Linked DNA regions of Homo sapiens: all the other regions are linked to region 3. Evidence: promoter capture Hi-C in 16 types of primary human blood cells and fetal thymus (Javierre and others, 2016). All regions are on one chromosome and are shown on one strand. The core of a region is centred on a gene start or on the middle of the fragment in contact, and the rest is flanking DNA. Distances in the headings are between cores, read along the strand shown. Region 1 has its middle 76 kb from the start of SP4. Region 2 overlaps HDAC9 (histone deacetylase 9). Region 3 holds the start of MACC1 (MET transcriptional regulator MACC1).

Region 1 (3,128 bases), core at 520-3,019, 1.1 Mb before region 3:
CCAGCCTGGGTAACAGAGCAAGACCCGGTCTCTAAAAAACAAAACAAAACAAAACCAAACCAAACCAAAGAATGGAATATGGAGGAAGCAAAAGGGAAAAAGGTAGAGACCAGATGTAGGGGAGGGCATTCAAAAGGGCTGAAAGTGAATGAGGGAAATTTTTCCAAAGAAATCTAGAATATTCTTCACCTTCTTCAGAAATTCAGATGGTTAATGCTTTTAAAATTTTTAGTATTCCAATTATTCAATTGTGTAAAGTAAGTATTTGTTTAGTGTCCTGTCAGCACAGATTGTAACTTGAATGAACAGAAATCTTGAATGTGGTTTTATTTTGATTAAGAACAACACTTATCTTCGATGTCTTAGGCACCCGTATAGTCAAGAATAGCCTGCTGGTAAAAGTCCCTGAGGGCAGTTAGTCAAGGAGGATTGGACATTAATATCTTTGGATTTTGAAGGAACTTATTGGAAGTAATTTCAATAAGTTCAATAATTGAACTCGTATGCCTCATTCTACTCTAAGAAAAGAAAAATGAGTCGATCCTTTGCATGATCACTTATCTGGATTTTAAATAGATGCACAAGCTTCTGATACCTAAAGTGTCACTTGTATCCTCATGTAAATAGCAGGATAATTTCCTTGACAGAAAATAGCTTCCTCATCCATGCATTACTGTCCTCATGATTTCAGCATTAGAGATTCATTTCTTTAGATTAAACATTGATCTTGACCCTTGTGAAATGCAGCTATGTTACCAGAAGGAGTAAGCTGTAAGTTCATTAACCTTTAAACATTAATGAAACATATCAGATGATTTTTCTCTCCCTTGCACAAGAGCAGTGAGAATCTGGTCATATGGGGGAACACTAAAGAGGAACTAACATCAAAGTCAAATTTACTTTCTTAGAAATTCTGTGTAGCTCAAGCCCTGTCTGGAAAGCTTATAACTGAGTTCCAGTTTCGATTTCACTGGACTGATCTGCTGCATGCTCAAAGGTATATTCAAATGTCAAGGCAAGGACAGTTGCTATAGAGCTTAGTTCCTTCTTTCATTTGATTAGACACATAAAGGGGTCATGTTCATCAACATGTTTATTTTTTTTAAATGACAGAATGACAACCTCAACAAGCTGAAGAAAAATTGGGATATCCTCGGGCATGTAACTGAAGGGTACAGAAGAGCTGCTGACTTCCAACAGAGATGGGGGTTCTTGTGCCACATGTCATTATCGAAAGCCTCAGCCTCTCTGTTCTGCTTTCTTGTTTCCTCTCTTTTTCTCTGTCTTGTCTTTTTCTCTGTCTTGTTTCCTCTCTGTCTTTTGCTCTGACTCCTTTCTCCTCCCCAGCCATCCAATCTTCTCTCTCTACATGTCTCCGCTCTGCTTTTCCCTATGTTGCCTTTATTCTCTGAAAATGTCTTTCCTCTGGTAAAATACATGGTACCCTACACTGCTCCAGGGATACATTGTTAGTGCCATAGCCTACAGTTGGTTAGAGAAAGGGTACAGCACAAGTCCAGAGGATGAGCCTGATTGGCCGAAGTTGGCTGACTTTCCCATCCCTGCAATCCTTCTAAATAGGAAGATATGTTCCCTGTTTCCCATAGAGGCGAGGGCTTCTTTTACCAGAAGAGGTGAAAGGAAAAGGCTTTATGCAGATGAATCCATGACTTCCACAGTCTATTTCAGGGTTCTAGTTGGATTGGTGGGTTTAATGAACACTGTACTTCATTGCTTCACAGTGGATGGCAACATTTCTATTTCACATTGATGTTACATTTTTTGAAAATTTGTATAGCAGAGGTGGAAGAGGAGAAAGAGGTGGAGGGGAAGAAAGCAACGCTATAATTCTATTTATTGTCTATTCGAAGAATACAACAGCTGAATCATTGTCCTTCAAATTATTATTTTTTTAAAGAAAAAGCCCTTTTCAAAACTAGAAATGTGTTATTTTTGATAAAGTTGGAGATCCAAATTCCAATTTTACTGCTGCATTATCAGAGTTAAAAGGTAGTCACATCTGGTTAAGGATTGAGTGCCGAAATAAAATTTGTAAAACAAAATGAAAAGTTCTAGGCTTGGTTTGACTCCAACTCTTTAAGAGATCTTTGTTGCTTAATCATTATCTATTTATTTAATTAATTAATTAATTTATTTATTTATTTTTGAGACGGAGTCTCACTTTTTCGCTCAGGCTGGAGTGCCGTGGTGCAATCTCAGCTCACAACAACCTCTGCCCGGGGGTTCAAGCAATTCTCCTGCCTCAGGCTCCCAAGTAGCTGGGATTACAGTTGCGCACCATCACGCCTGGCTAATTTTTAGCCACCATACCCAGCTAATTTTTGTATTTTTTGTAGAGACGGGGTTTTGCCATGTTTCCCAGGCTGGTGTCAAACTCCCGGCCTCAAGTGATCTGCCAGCCTTGACCTCCCAAAGTGCTGGGATTACAGGCGTGAGCCACTGTGCCTGGCCTCATTTTTTAAAATGAAAAAAAAAAAAAAATATATATATATATATATACATACATATATATATAAGTATTAGCGACCATTTATGACACTAATGATGGTCAAAGACCTCTACACATACAAGCTTCGCATTATAAAGTTTCTAATGCAGAAAAATGTGGATTCTAGTCATCTTTTCTCACTTGGATGCATTTCTTGAGGACTTGCTGAGTAATGTATTTGGTACACTCTTGGTGTTGGCTACAAACAGGTAAGGAGAGAGACGGCATGACCATTCCCACAAAGTCAGTGAAATAAAAGACAGTCTTCCCAGGGACGACACAGTAGAGCCCCTCCCACTACTTTCTTACTTGTTATTATTGTTTATTTTTTTCAGGAAGCCCCAGTTGTCAGGCGTGGTGGCTCATGCCTGTAATTCCGGCACTTTGGGAGGCTGAGGCAAGCAGATAGCTTGAGCTCAGGAGTTCAAGACCAGCCTAGGAAACATGGCAAAACTCCATCTGTACAAAAAATACAAAAATTAGCTGGGTATGGTGGTGCAAGCCTGTAGCTACTTAGGAGGAGGCTGAGGTGGGAGGATCACCTGACCCTGGGGAGGTCGAGGCTACAGTGAGCAGTGTTCATGCCACTGCACTCCAGCCTGGGCATGAATGAGGTCCT
Region 2 (3,040 bases), core at 345-2,844, 1.7 Mb after region 3:
ATGATTTTTACCACCTACAAAGAGGATTCCTGGGAGAAACAAATAAAACATTATACATTGAAAATTCATAGCACTTAATGGTCACTGAATGTTATTAATCCTTCTTAAGACATATCATGGGCTCCATTTCAATTACCTCACCTACAGCGCTTAAATAAAAAATAGACAGGACAAGAAATAAGAGAGGCATGTTTGGTTTGTTTGCTCATTAGATGTTTTTTTTTTTGTTTTTTGTTTTTTGTTTTTTTTAAAAAAACCACCCTGCTTTTTTTTTTTCAGTATTAACAATTGAGCTTTATGATGTAGAAGCTAAGATACTCTGTCATGTCCAGTTATATGCTTGGAAAGAAACTGGACTGGAATTCATGATTAATCCTCAGGATTGAGACAAGAAATGAAAATGTGGCCAGACAGCTAGGGGTGCACTCTTAGCATATTGTTGGGAGGCCCTGGCTCCTTAAGAGTTTCCCAGCACGGAGCTTTAGTCCTCTCCATCCCTGTCCTTTCTTTGTTAAAACGTCTATCCCCACATCTAAAGAGCACTTACTAATCAGGTATCTTTTGGTTTAGTCTTTCAGAGTGTGTGGCTGTTAGTTCTGAATGGCCCTAAGTGCTTTTTTGTACTTAGTGGAGCCAACTTAGCCATTCACAGAGAAGCAATCTCTCTATAAATGAACAGATTTTCACACGTGGGCTGTAATATATGCATAACACATTTCTCGCGGTGTTAATTTTGGTCTAACATCCTCCTGTTGGTCTTGATTACCTTGGAGACTTACATCCTGTCTTCTGTATATATGTAGTTGTTAGTCACTTCTACTAAGTTGTCTCACCACCATTTCTCAAGAATGATAACAGAAGACACAATATTTCAATAACTGATTTTTCCTTTCAACAAATGTTCATTCAACCTCCTGTTTCCAGACATCGTACTAAGGCTTAGTCAAATCTAAACCTCGTGTAAAACTCTAAAATGCTGTAAAGGTCCAGCTAACTTTGTAGTAAAAATAAATGGAATCATTTCAGAATATTAATTGAATGTTTTTTTAAAAACAATACTAAGTAAAATGTAAATCTGAATATAGGTTCACTTCAAATTTATTATCGTTTTTCTAAAAACTGGAAATCCTAGACTGTTGTTTATTATTAGTCATATTATTGATATGGCTGCAAGTCAAACATAATCTGAATTGAACGTATCTTGAGAAAACAACAGCATACGAATAAATATGGTGAGACAGTATGGTGATAAATGCCATTTGGGATAGCATATTAATGGTGAAAAAATAGATAGCAATTTTTTAATTGGGAGTATTAGAAGCTTTATCCATTTTGCTTATTTTATTCATGGTGTGCAAATCAAATAGATGGACGACTGGACACAAATTCTGTGTAAATGATCTATATTGTGACAAATCGCAAGGCATCTGGTTAAGTGAGATATCTCCCTTGGGAAATAAAACGAAACAAGAAGTGTTTTTCTTCTTAAAAATCTGTACCCTGGTAGATAGGATCCAACATAAAATTAAACATCTCATCTAACTTTTCCAATGCCATGTTTCCAAAAGGAAATTACATTAAATTTGTCCATTCAAAATGCAAAAAGCAAGACATCCAAGAATGAGGTTTGTAGCAGAATGTAATTTTAAAGACATGATTTTTCTCCATTACTGGAGATATCAAACATTTTAAAAGCCTGTTCTTTCCTAATTGGATTCCAGATCATTATTTTTTTGGCCAAAAAAGAAAGGTTTTCTGCATTCTTAAAATAATTAGGCAAGATTTCAAATCAAATTATCCAATTTCAAACCTCTATTTTTCTCTCTAAAACGCCTGTTAGAGGAGGACTGCCGATGACTAAGCTTTGTGTCATTCTCATGGCTTTATTAGGAGAATGTTCTAAGTCCTTCACTTTCTATGTAATCAGAACTATAATTTCTTCAGGTTATTTTAAGACCCAGCTATGGCTAAAGCAGGAAACTCAATTTTATTCTGAGCTGTAGACATGTCGACACAGCAGAGCAGGGCTCCAGCTTTCTGGGCTATCTTCTTTCATAAACCCTCTTGCTTGGTGTCAGACCAAGGCTCTAGGCTAGTTGTACTTACTCTCTGGGTGTCAGGTAACTGTTTCCAAGACATTTACGGTAGTAGGACTGTTATTTTGGAAAATATGTGTTGACATATTATTATTCTACAAATGAACAGCTTACTTGTCCAGAGAGCACCACTCTTCATTACATCAATTCGAAAATCATATTCAACAGAAGGGCAGTTGAGAAAACCCAGGTGCCAGAAACATTTGATAAAAAAGCAGAACAGAAAGCTCATATGTCTACATGGTTCATCATACTCCCTTAGAATTTTATAACTTAATTAACCAACTCCATTTAGGCTTGCTTAGTTGCCTCTAATTATTCAGAAAAATTTTCTGTGTTGCAAAGTAATATTAATAGTGAGTGACATTTCTGCAAGTAACAGGTAACCTATTTCTTCTATAGTTGTGATATATAACTAAGTAAAGAAAGGAGAATAGGACAGTATAATAAAATAGAAAAAGTTACCTGCAAGAGGTGGTCTTCAGAATGAAAAGAAAAATATAGCATGATTACTTTAATATTTTGATGTATATCACGAAGTTTCTCACAGATACGTAAATTAATCTTATTCCTGAAGTAAACTTATTAATACTTTTAATTATTAATAAACATACTGATATAAAAACACTTTATTGAACTGTGATTTTCATGCTAGCATTTTTTTTCTTTGGGTTAAAATACTTTTACTACTTTTCTGCTCCTACTACAACAATAAAATAATGGAAACAAGTACCATGAATCCATTAGTTGAGCTTACTATGCTATATGTACTGTATACCATTCTACATTTTTTTGCATTCATTAATATATTGAGCTCATCCTTCTATGTTAATATCTTCAGACATTACTTAATAACTTTAATGACTTGTATTTCAGAGTATGGATTATGTATTGACTTATAGTTAGATTGCCCTCAGTTTTCCATTATTATAAATAAAACTGCT
Region 3 (2,758 bases), core at 97-2,596:
AAATCTCTGAACATTTCAAGATGAGCAAAAATGGTTTCAGGGAGGAGAAATGCCATGCAGAATGCCCTCTGTAGGGTTTGGGGAAATTAAGAACCATTTGTTTTGGAAATAATATAATGACATAAAGGAAAGCTAGGTTCTAGTAGAGAGTTGAGGAACCTGTGACAAAAAGAAACAGAACAGCTCAGTTTGGATTGTGGGATGAGTCAAGGGGAAACTTCAAAGGGAATCTGGGTGGATTAGGTGATCTGGCAGCATGAAGCCAGGGATGCATCAGGGAGGAAGGGGTGGTTAGAACAGTAGGAGAGAAAGTGCAGAAAAGGGAAAGGAAACTTTTTCTTTGTCACCATTCTGCCATCTACTTACATTAGATGAATCCTTCTATTATGTTTCTGAACCCAGACCCAGCCAGGACTTGTCTCTATTCATTTTCTGGGCTGTGTCTAACAGGAGATAATAGGCTAGAGAGAGATGCTGTATGAACAAATAGAGAAACACATTTGTTTTAAACATTCTCTGTTGCTGATGTTGGAAAAAAATGTGAAACAATTATTGCACATTTCATTTCACTAAGTTTTACCTTTTTTCCCCTTTCCCCTAATTTTCTCTTTCTTGAATTTTGAACAAAATACACAGAAGGAAAACACAAAACACAGAAATGGAAAGTAAAATGGAAGAAAATATCAAGAAAACTTTATTCTTGCTTATATTTTAAAAGGCACATTTTAAAGTGTTATCTTAAAAATCCAGAGCATTTTAGAAGATGAAATGCCAAAAGGTCTCCATTATGTCTATATGTCTATGTCTTTGAGTGACAATCACAGTGCTGATGTAGAGGGAAAGGGGGAACTAGTTAGACACTGTCACTCACCTGGGAAGGCTTTATTCACCTGTTCCACAGGGCAGTGAGGCACCTTCAGCTCTGAATCACCGAAAGAGAATCTGGTGGGGCAAGTTCCAGCTGCATGAGGATTTGCTTGCATAAATATTTTTTACTTATTGCTAACACTGAGGGTGCCTTCTTACTCCCTGGCAAACATTAAACCACTTTTATTTCCTTTCATGGAAATAAGATTATATTTACAGATGGTTCTTAGATATACTCACCTGATTTTTTTTTAATTGCTTTTCCACCTGCTTCCCCTTTCTTCTTAGGGTGAAACTCTAGCCATACGCCCTCTTCTGGTTTCGGGTGAGGAGCCTGAATTGTGGGTATCGTAGTTCTCTTGCCTTTTGGGGTTTCTAGTTGGGCAGCTTTGGAGCCACAGTGGTAGAACTTCAAGTCCCAGGTGGCTCAGGAAGCAGGGGTGCAGTTGCCTGCCTGCATACGGAGCAAGGCATGTTTGAAGAGTACCCGGGTTTGGTAGAGTGACTTCTATTCACTAAAACCATGTGTCTGAACTGAAGAAGCTTGGGCTCACTTCCACAAATGTAAGTGCTGATTTTTTAAAAATAATATTCCTTTCACTATTGATATGTGCTACACACTAGGAAGTTGTATAATTTCCAGAAAAATGTAACAAACCAGCTGCTTAACAAATCAAGCCCTGCTTAAATAAAGGGAAGGTAACTGGTATTCTGTGGGCTTATGGGACATGTGTTAGAATAAACCTCATGACATAGAATAGAATAATACCTTGAGACATGGTTTAGAATAAAGTAGTTTATTTTAAAAAAAAGGAGGAACCCAGGTCACATTAACCATCAAAGGCAAAAACAAAACACTCTATGAGTTGCTTAAAATATGTAGATGGCTGAAATCCCCTAAAAACTTTAAATATCTCAAAAAGCATACAGGTATGTTAAAAAGACTGTGCTTTGAAGATAGATAAAGTTGCAATCAGCAGCCCCACTGCTTATTAGATTTATGACCATTGACAAGATGTTTCACCTCGCAAAGTCTCAGTTTCCTCATCTGTAAAGTGTGTGTGCATAACCTACCTCATTAGGTTAATAGCATTAAATTATGAATAAAAGATAATCATGTAATTAAGTTAAGGGGGTCATTAAATTAGCACAGTGCATTGTACTGAATAGACAGATGATACATGATGGAGGGTAACTTGGCTTCATCCTAATTAAGTTTCAATTAAGCTTGGAAAACACACCAAAGAAACAAAAAGACAAATACTGGATGATTCAACTTACCTGAGGTATCTGGAGTAGTCAAACTCACATAAATGATACTTAGAATGGTAGTTGCCAGGGGCTTGGGGGAAGGAGAAATGAGAGTTGTTTAATGGATATAGAGTTTCAGTTTACAAGATGAAAACACTTGGAGACTGTACAATAATGTAAATATATTTAATACTATTGAACTTAAAATTTGTAAGTGTAAACACTTACAAATGGTTAGGATGGTAAATTGTATGTTAAGTTTTTTACCACAATTAATAAAGATAGATTTTAAAAAATTTATTTTTAAGATCAAAAAGCATGTAGTGAAAATTCCAATGCCTTCCATTTATTAAAGGTCTTCCTAATTTCCTAAAAATGTCTTAAGTCTATATTCAGTGGGTCTAATTTAGGATTGATATTGACTTATCTATGTTAATGTCTGGTTTTTACATAGCAATTACTGGGTGATAATGATGAATTTCAGGTATATTCTTAAAGTTGTCTTAACCTCAGTGGTGATTCTTTTATGCCCCCCTGAACTTAATTACATGATTATCTTTTATTCATAATAGCGATTTTTAATATGATTTCATGGGTAGTGTACAGAATCTAGAAATTATGAAGTCATAATTATTAGTTA

What was found. The method cuts DNA at HindIII sites, captures the fragments that hold promoters and counts their contacts. A CHiCAGO score of 5 or more calls a contact.
Region 1: a fragment that was not itself captured here is called in contact with the fragment with the promoter of MACC1 in region 3 in 1 of 17 cell types (total B cells); the score reaches 6.1 in total B cells.
Region 2: a fragment that was not itself captured here is called in contact with the fragment with the promoter of MACC1 in region 3 in 1 of 17 cell types (total B cells); the score reaches 6.2 in total B cells.

What each region holds. Positions count from the first base shown.
Region 1 is chr7:21,350,876-21,354,003 of GRCh38, reverse strand. No RefSeq gene overlaps it. Among named protein-coding and RNA genes, the nearest start is that of SP4, 76 kb to the left of the region's middle. RefSeq lists an enhancer at 713-922. The HindIII fragment of the contact is 1,651 bases long and covers 944-2,594 here.
Region 2 is chr7:18,519,804-18,522,843 of GRCh38, reverse strand. The region is part of intron 2 of HDAC9 (histone deacetylase 9); the gene reads right to left. Among named protein-coding and RNA genes, the nearest start is that of HDAC9, 26 kb to the right of the region's middle. RefSeq lists a silencer at 598-677. The HindIII fragment of the contact is 541 bases long and covers 1,324-1,864 here.
Region 3 is chr7:20,215,972-20,218,729 of GRCh38, reverse strand. It overlaps MACC1 (MET transcriptional regulator MACC1), which reads left to right and starts at 1,346. Exons shown (of 7, transcript NM_182762.4): 1 at 1,346-1,431. It overlaps GIRGL (glutamine insufficiency regulator of glutaminase lncRNA), which reads right to left and starts at 1,153. Exons shown (of 4, transcript NR_134569.1): 1 at 1,108-1,153; 2 at 367-474. RefSeq lists an enhancer at 322-1,521. The HindIII fragment of the contact is 5,395 bases long and covers 1-1,412 here.